Regions from separate parts of the Homo sapiens genome. Here regions 1 and 2 are each linked to region 3. The links are contacts of gene promoters, found by promoter capture Hi-C in blood cells and fetal thymus (Javierre and others, 2016). All regions are on one chromosome and are shown on one strand. The core of a region is centred on a gene start or on the middle of the fragment in contact, and the rest is flanking DNA. Distances in the headings are between cores, read along the strand shown. Region 1 overlaps EIF2A (eukaryotic translation initiation factor 2A). Region 2 overlaps SELENOT (selenoprotein T). Region 3 holds the start of ERICH6-AS1 (ERICH6 antisense RNA 1).

The links. The method cuts DNA at HindIII sites, captures the fragments that hold promoters and counts their contacts. A CHiCAGO score of 5 or more calls a contact.
Region 1: a contact is called between a fragment that was not itself captured here and the fragment with the promoter of ERICH6-AS1 in region 3, in 1 of 17 cell types (megakaryocytes). The highest score is 5.1, in megakaryocytes.
Region 2: a contact is called between a fragment that was not itself captured here and the fragment with the promoter of ERICH6-AS1 in region 3, in 2 of 17 cell types (megakaryocytes and total B cells). The highest score is 5.6, in megakaryocytes.

The regions. Positions count from the first base shown.
Region 1 is chr3:150,582,962-150,586,010 of GRCh38, reverse strand. It overlaps EIF2A (eukaryotic translation initiation factor 2A), which reads right to left. Exons shown (of 14, transcript NM_032025.5): 13 at 2,746-2,811; 14 at 1-2,165. The coding sequence ends at 2,100. The region is part of intron 1 of LOC124900547 (a long non-coding RNA gene); the gene reads left to right. Among named protein-coding and RNA genes, the nearest start is that of SELENOT, 19 kb to the left of the region's middle. The HindIII fragment of the contact is 399 bases long and covers 1,457-1,855 here.
Region 2 is chr3:150,605,905-150,608,837 of GRCh38, reverse strand. All of the region lies in intron 1 of SELENOT (selenoprotein T), which reads right to left. Among named protein-coding and RNA genes, the nearest start is that of SELENOT, 4.0 kb to the right of the region's middle. The HindIII fragment of the contact is 2,725 bases long and covers 27-2,751 here.
Region 3 is chr3:150,702,051-150,704,997 of GRCh38, reverse strand. ERICH6-AS1 (ERICH6 antisense RNA 1) reads right to left here and starts at 1,434. Exons shown (of 3, transcript NR_121675.1): 1 at 1,331-1,434. ERICH6 (glutamate rich 6) reads left to right here and starts at 1,078. Exons shown (of 14, transcript NM_152394.5): 1 at 1,078-1,502; 2 at 2,820-2,877. The coding sequence starts at 1,100. RefSeq lists enhancers at 883-972, 1,123-1,202. The HindIII fragment of the contact is 4,487 bases long and covers 1-2,947 here.

The DNA.
Region 1 (3,049 bases), core at 407-2,906, 120 kb after region 3:
AAACAAAGAAGTTTATTTTCTCACAGTTCTGGAGGTTAGAAGTCTGAGATGAGGATATCACCAGCATGGTTAGGTTCTGGTGAGGACTCTCTGGCTTACAGCTGGCTGCTTTCTCACCATGTCTTCACATGGCCCAAAGAGACAGAACAAGCTCTCTGGTGTCTTTTCTTGTAAGGACAATAATCCCATCACGAAGTCCCCAACCTCTTCACCTCATTCAAACACACTTACCTTCCAAAAGGCCCATCTCCCAATACCACCACGTTGGAGGTTAGGGCTTCAACATACGAGTTTTAAGGTGGCACAGTCAGTCTATTAACTTCCTGTCCATATATTAGTTATGTATTAGGCATTATGTATTACCTAATACATAGCTAATCTGTATTAGTCAGGGTTTTCCAGAGAAACAAACACATACACACATCCTGAGAGAGATAAGAGAGAGAGACTCATATAGAAGGAGCTCCAAAATATTTTTTTTTGTGTGTGTGTGAGACGGTTTCACTCTTGTTGCCCAGGCTTGGAGTGCAATGGCACGATGTCGGCTCACTGCAACCTCTGTCTGCCGGGTTCAAACAATTTTCCTACCTCAGCCTCCCAAGTAGCTGGGATTACAGGTATGTGCTACCACGCCTGGATACTTTTGTATTTTTAGTAGAGATGGGGTTTCACCATGTTGATCAGGCTGGTCTTGAACTCCTGACCTCAGGTGATCCACCCACCTTGGCCTCCCAAGGTGCTGGGATTACAGGTGTGAGCCAGCATGCCTGGCCTCCAGAATATTTTAAGGGAGTACAGAACCACTATGGTGAGTATAAGCTGGGCATAGTGATGCAAGCCTGTAGTGTCAGATACTTGGAAGGAGGAGGTGAAGGATCACTTGAGTCCAGGAGTTCAAGGTGCACTCCAACCTGGGAGGCAGAGTGAGACCCTGTCAAACAAACACCACCACCAAAAAGCCCCAAACAGAACAGTTAGTATATGCCATCTTTTTTTTTTAAGTGTATGTGTATGTATATTTGAATACTCATATGGTATCTATCATTAGAAAGATACACAAAAAACTGGAAAATGTGGTAGTGGAACAGACTTAATTTTCATTGCATGCCTTTGTATTTTTTGAATTAGAAAAAAAAAAGTCCTGTGTGTATACTTTTTCTTTAAAAATTTTTAAAAAAGGATTTTGTTACTACATAGGATACTCTTACAAATTAAGAAGAAAGTCAAACATCCAAACAGAAAAATGGGCAAAGGAAAAGAAAAATCAATTCACTAAAGAAATACAACCAACTATCAAACGTGGAAAAGTACATAACCCATCTCTGATAAAAATACATGTATATAACAGTAACAAACAATCATTTCCTCTTTATCAAAGTGGCGAACATTTCAAAGCCTTATCACTTCTGATATTGCCAACAGTGTGGAAAACTTTAAATGGTGCAAGTATAAAGCTTGAGATAGGGCAATTTGGCAGTATCCATGAAAACTAAGCAGGGTGCTTAGTGTTACTAAATGATACATTACTTGAGGATACAGGAGTAGTATATATCATAGTGACCTAAAGCATAGGCTCTGGGATTAGATGGCCATTTCCTAGCTTTGAGACACTGACAAATTTCTTAAATTTATGGCCTTAGTTTTTTCATTTATAAAATAGAGATTAAAAGAATTACTTCATAGAGTCTTGTGAGAATTAAGTAGTTTTACACATCTTATAAATTAATAAAGGATATCTGAACTAAGGAACTTATAATAAAAACAGTGATTAAATTTAAAATGTCTTTGTTCATTTACATGGTATATATCACCCTCTACAAAAAAAAATGACACTTGTCTTTCAATCTGTCAAGCTTAGCTAAAAAATTCACGTATCTCTTTTCTATATCACATATTGACATGATATAGGATGCAAGATATAAATATCAATTTAATAGACATTATTAAATAATTTTACACTTAGTAGAATCTTGGATAAATGGTTAAAATTATAGATTGACATTAAGTGTGGGCACAGGAATATTCTGTGTATACCAATGGGTTTAACAGAAGATGTGTTTGCACTGATTTCTGGTCATCAACTTGCTTTCCGTGAATCTTTAAATACCCAATTCCAAATCTTCCAGCTCCTGGAGAAGGGCTGTTTCTTTCTGAATTTTCTCCAACTAGAAAAGTTTGAAACAATGAAGTTATTATGAAATAATTACTGGATATGTAACCAAAATAATACAGAAAAAATGGTATTTCTGACAATTTATTATGTTCACTAGTAAACACAGATTTTAAAATACAGGTTAGAAACAAATTCTAATTTGTTATCTGGTATGAATCGAGGGTGAAAAGAACAGACACTGTCTTACTGCATCCCTTTGGGCCCCAAAAATTTTCAATTCTATATTCGGGCTTAAACATGTTGACAGGAGGAGGGAAAAGGCAAACAGGGCAGTACAACTTGAGAGAATCTTATATTTGTCTAATATAACAAATTGCTATTATTTTCAGCAGTAATAACATAGTATGCCTCTTAGGAATATTGACTTTTTCATTCACATGATCAATACCATATCTCTTCTATTTAAGAGTAAAGCTATTTAAAAGTAAAAACATTAAAAAGAATATGGCATATGGTTTTCAAAATAAGTTTTTAAACTCCATGTGCTCTTTTACCTGACTAAATACTTGTTTATAATAAAAGGGGGAAGGCTGGTGGTCACCACAAGCCTAAATGAAAAATGCAGAAAGTACCTGATTTTTTTCTAGCTGTTTTCCAGTTGCTGCTTGTTCTTTCAGTTGTTCGATTGCTTTCAGTTTCTGCAAACATCAAATATGAGTCAAGAGCATGGAAGAAAAGTCACTTCAAATGCAAATTTCCTTATTAAGAATGTGAAACTCAAGTAAGGAGATTAATTATCTTAGATTTGTATCAACAATGGTCTGTTAAAATGCTAGGATAAATTGTTTTTTAAAGTTAAATGCAAAATTGTAAATGTTAAAAACATGAGATTTGGCAAAATATTATTCTCAGGCTTTTAATTAATGTTATCGTGTA
Region 2 (2,933 bases), core at 140-2,639, 96 kb after region 3:
GTCATGTTTACCTATATCTAAAAGCTTTGAACTAAGTACTTAATTCATTATTAAGTGGAAACAACTATTATGTGCAAGGAGTTCAATTACATGCTGCAGCTATTTTTTTAATGGTAACACTCTACTACTACTAACCTGCTATCTACACCAACTTCTTACTACTCCTTTATTTCATTGATACCAATAAGCATACTTTTCCATATTTAGCATCTCTACTTTTCCTTTTTTTAAAATTAGAGACAAAGTCTCGCTATGTTGCCCAGGCTGGTCTTGAACTCCTGGCCGCAAGCAATCCTCCCACCTCAGCCTCCTGAGTAGCTGGAATTTACAGGTGTAAGCCACTAAACGTGGCTACATGTAGCATCTCTATAAATTAAAAAAACAATAACAAACAAAAAAAGCCACAGGATTTATCTTATAATCATTAGTGTGTCCGTTTAAATGGCAGTATTTTTTTCTTCTAAATGGCATATAAAATCATGGTACATCTTACAATCCATTATGTATTTTAGGTTTGATGTAATAAAGTAACTGTTAATTTAAGTTTCTTAGTTTCAGTTATCATGGCTATTTTGGAGATAAAAATTTCTTTGTGGGGGTTTTCCCCTGGCTACTATGTCCTTAGTCTTCAAAAATCAGGATTCCTTCCCTCCCACCAAAAACATTCATAATACTTGTTTATTTTAATTATCATTCCAGTGAATGGTATAGCATCACCACAGAACTCAGGAATCATCTTTGACATCTCTCACTTCATGCCACCTCTCTTTCCCCACAAACATACAATTCATCATTAAGAGCTGTTAAATTTACCACATAAAGATCTCTCAAATACATCTCTTTCTATTTCTACCACCTCCTTACTTTTCCAAGTTCCATTATCTCTTGCCTGGACAACTCCAAAAGCCGCCCTAAATGGTTTCCCATCAATTCTTTGTCTCCTGGAATGTCTTTTCCACAAGAAAACCAAACGGTCTTTGTTAAGCATGGCCTGCCAGACCCTCAAGCTCTTAACGGCACCTTCTTTTAGGTCTCTGAGGTCAGTAGGCTTAGGCTTCTCTGGTAAAACTGTGGTCTTTCCTACTATAAGTACACTGAACATGTTATTCCCATTGCCTGGAAAGTTCTCGCCAAATAAATCTTATCCTTCGAATCTCAGTTCAAAGTTCATTTCCTCATGGAAACCTTCCCTGATCCCGACTAGGCATCTCTCATACCACCACATAATCTTTCTTCACAGCACTTAACACCAATTGAATTTTATCTGTGTGGTCAGTCCATGGATTAATGTCTGCATCTGCTCTTGCCTGTGAAGTCCACGAGAGCACTGAATTGAATTCTCCGCAGGAAGCAAAGTGCCTGCACAGAGTAAGTGCTCCAATATCTGTTGAATATGCAAATATCAAGTCTACAGTAACCAACATGATCTCTGTAACTCACAATTTCTCCAATTCAGCATTTTACTACTAATCTTGATGAGTATCAACATCCAAATCAACCTTAGGTCTTTATTTTCTTGCTGTCACACTATGAAAGCCAAGGCTGAATAGTTGTAAATTTAAATAAAAATCTGTTTTGGTACAGTTGTTTCATTTACCTCTTAAAACTACATTTAGAAGTTGGCTGTCCTAAAATTACAGCAGTAGATTCTCAAACTAACAAAACTTTGAAAATCCCGCCATATTCTACTTATGTTTTGAAATCTCAATTTCATTTAATCTACTATTCTCAGCAATTCAGTTGTCAAATGTTCAAGTAAATATTAACTGTAAAGGGTTGTAGCCAATAATCTCTTTAAACTGCAACTAATTAAATGCTGTAGATCTGATTACATGTTAAATCGCATATACGGAGAAAGTATGTATGACAAACATCATGCCTAAGAGTAACTATCAATACAAATTTATAAAAATCAATAAAAGGAAAACACAAAAAGGGAATTTCAGCCGGGGGCAGTGGCTCAAACCTGTAATCCTAGCACTTTGGGACGCCAAGGTGGGTAGGTCACTTTGAGGTCAGGAGTTCAAAATCAGCCTGGCCAACATGGTGAAACCCCGTCTCTACTAAAAATACAAAAATTAGCCAGGCGTGGTGGTGCACACCTGCAGTCCCAGCTACTCAGGAGGCTGAGGCATGAGAATCTCTTGAGCCCAGGAGGCAGAGGTTGCAGTGAGCTGAGATCACACCACTGCACTCTAGCTTGGGCAACAAAGCAACACTGTCTCAAAAACAATGGAATTTTAAGCTCTGATTAGAGAACTTCCTTTTTCTATGTTAAGTGTTAAACGTCCAAATAAGCAGAATAAATTTTTTTCCAAGTATGAAGCCAATATAATCAAAAGTATCTAATTATATTGCTCAATCAACATAATAAACCACAGACTCAGATACACAAGTAATACTGTGCCAGTCTGGTAGACTTCTTGAGATGGTCACATCTTTAGCATGCTTAATTCCTGGCATACAGCAGGTATTACACACAGCCTGGGCAACAAGGCAAGACCAGGTCTCTACAAAAAATATGAAAATTAGCCAGGCGTGGTGGTGCGCGTCTGCAGTCCCAGCTACTTGGGAGGCTGTGGTGGGAGGATTATCGGAACTCAGGAAGTCAAGGCTCCGTGATCATGCCATTGCACTCCAAACTGGGTGACACAGCGGGACTCTGTCTCAGCAAAAAAAAAAAAAAAGGAAGAAAGAAAGGAAAAAAAAAAACGAGAATAGGAAACTCTGTCGTAAGCTACTCTACAAGCTTGATCTCTCAGCACTATGTTGCTATTGTGTTGACTAACAATTGCAAAAGTGGTACAATTACCAGGTGATATATTGAGGTATAGTTATTTTTGATAAAATACTCATGATCACTATAAGGGGAAAAAGTCAGTGGAAATGAAGGTAAAATAGTTCTCTTTTGATTGTTAGCAGTGGTAATTAAT
Region 3 (2,947 bases), core at 185-2,684:
GCCTGTAGTCCCAGCTACTCGGGAGGCTGAGGCAGGAGAATTGCTTGAACCCAGGAGGCTGAGGTTGCAGGGAGCCGATATGGTGCCACTGCACTCCAGCCTGGGTGACAGAGCGAGACTCCGTCTCAAAATAAATATAATATAATATAATATAATATAATATAATATAATATAATATAATATAATATATAAAATTGGCCAGGCGTGGTGACACACATTTGTTGTCCTTGCCACTTGGGAGACCGAGGTGGGAGGATCACTGGAGCCCAAGAGTTCAGGGCTGAAGTGAACCATGATGCCGCCACTGCACTCCAGCCTGGGTGACAGAGTGACATCCTGTCTCTCAAAAATAAAAAATGTATATATTTTACAAAAATGTAAGTAAATACAAAGTCCCAGAAGGACGCAGGTGGTACCTAGGTGGCCAGATGCTTCAGGACTTTTCTACTCCAGGATGGATAGATGGGCCAAGTAAGAAGCAGGACCCAGATCACAGCAAGGAGCAAAATTTATGGGACGCTAAAAATGTCGCCAATCAAGATTAATTAATATTAATCTAACAATATTTAAGATAACTAACATTTAAGGCAATTTTAATACGCTTATTAATATTTAAAGCTATTTTAAAAATATCCGCAAACGAGGGCCCAAGGGCTGGCGCCTGATTTTGTAAATAAAGTTTCACTGGACGTTCCAGCAAGCATCTGTCTACTCAATAACCAGACTCCAGCATCCGCAATACCAAATGGCACCGTGTGTGTCCGTCGCTAGAAGCCACTTCCTCCACCCAAGTTAAAAAAAAAAAAAAAGGCCCCAAATAAGCTGAGAGACGAAGAAAAGATCGTTTCTCCGCAGGCTGCCAGGGGTTTCAGAGACGCTGAAGAGCAGGGACAGAAAGAAGTCTGCGGTGGCCCCCACCGGCCCTCGGCACCCACATTCTATCCGGCTAACCAGCTCCTGCCGCTTTAAATCCGGGAGGCTCGGTGGCGCAGGGCAAGCAGTTGCCCGGGGAGACCAACGCACAACAGAGGCTCGCGCTCGCGAGAGCCGACCGGGGCCGCGGCCAAAGAGCTGGCTGTAATCCCGCCTCCCGCCAGCCATGGCCCACTTGCGCTCGCCTAGCGGCTTCGGAGACCCGGGGAAGAAGGACCAGAAGGAGTCAGAGGAGGAGTTAGAGGAGGAGGAGGAGGAGGAAGAGGTGGAGGAGGAGGAGGAAGAGGTGGAGGAGGAGGAGGAAGAGGTGGAGGAGGAGGAGGAGGAGGTGGTGGAGGAGGAGTTGGTGGGGGAAGAGCAGGAGTTGGAGGCCCCTGAGACGTTCAGCGAAGAGTACCTCTGGAAGGTCACGGACATCGGTGACTACGACGACGACTTCCCAGACGTGCGCCCCCGCTTAGCCAGCATCGTCAGCCCTAGCCTGACCTCTACGTTCGTGCCCAGCCAGAGCGCGACCAGCACTGAAACGCCGAGCGCAAGCCCACCCTCCAGCACCTCCTCGCATAAAAGTACCGCCCCCGACCCACCCCTTCCTCGAGGGTTTCTCGTCTCCAGGGGGCACCTGGTCCACCCACTCCTGGGTGGTGCCTTCGTCGACCTGCGCGTCGTGCCTGATTTCTAAATGCATGCACCATTCCACACACCTAATCTCTCTCACGCCCTTGTCAGAGACACTGAACCCTTGGCTGAGCTGTTGTGATGAGGCACGATTTAGGATATAGGCGAAACACCATAAAAGTTGAACTTGGGCATGGCTGTATGAAGTGCTTTTTTTTTTTTAGACAAGAGTCTCGCTCTGTCGCCCAGGCTGGAGTGCAGTGGCTGCAGCCTCGACCTCCTGGGCTCAAGCCTCCCACCGCAGCCTCTCGAGTAACTGGAACTACAGGCACACGCCACCACACCCAGCTAATCTGGCGTCTCACTATGTTGCCCAGGCTGCTGGGAGTGCTCATTTTTATAACATTTTTGCGTGCATTCACACCGTGACATCTCTCTCTCTCTCTCTCTCTGTTCCCCCTCCCCTCCCTCTTCCTCCCCTCCCTCTCCCCTCCCCCTCTCTTTCTCTCTCCCTCTCTCTCTCTCTCACAGACACACACACACACACACACACACACTCATATTATTTCCAGAGAAGTGCCTTAAGGGTGCTGTACTACTGAAACAGTCCTGCAAAAAAAAAAAACAACTCTCTTTTGTGTTTAACATCCTGTGCTGAAGCCACTCCAGTCACTTCCTTGAAAAAAGAAGCAGAGAAGTCTTCTAGAGTAGGCTTCTCAAGCTCTAGTGTTGACATTTTGGTCTGGATAATTCTTTGTTGGGGAGGATTGGGGACTGTCCTGTGAATTACAGGATATTTGGCAGCATCCCTGTCCTCTACCCGTGGCTGTGCTAGAAGCACACATCCTTGCGATGATCAAAAATGTCTCCAGGCCGGGCGCGGTGGCTCACGCCTGTGATCCCAGCACTTTGGGAGGCCTAGGCGGGCAGATCACGAGGTCGGGAGATCGAGACCATTCTGGCTAACATGGTGAAACCCCGTCTCTACTAAAAATACAAAAAATTAGCCGGGCGTGGCGGCGTGCGCCTGTAGTCCCAGCTACTTGGGAGGCTGAGGCAGGAGAATAGCGTGAACCCGGGAGGTGGAGCTTGCAGTGAGCCAAGATCGCGCCATTGCACTCCAGCCTAGGCGACAGAGCGAGACTCCGTCTCAAAAAAAAAAAAAAAAAAAAAAAAGTCTCCAGACATTGCCATGTGTTCCTGGGGGGGGTAGAATTGACCTTTTGATTTAGAGGGAATAGCTGATTTTTAAATGTTTCATTCAACAGGTTTCCCTAAAATATTTCAGACATTTAGGAAAGACATGTCTGAAATGAGTATAGATAGGTAAGAAAATGTTTTCAAATTTCACATTTTTTGAACCCAATAATGTTTACCTTTTGGATAAACATGTTAG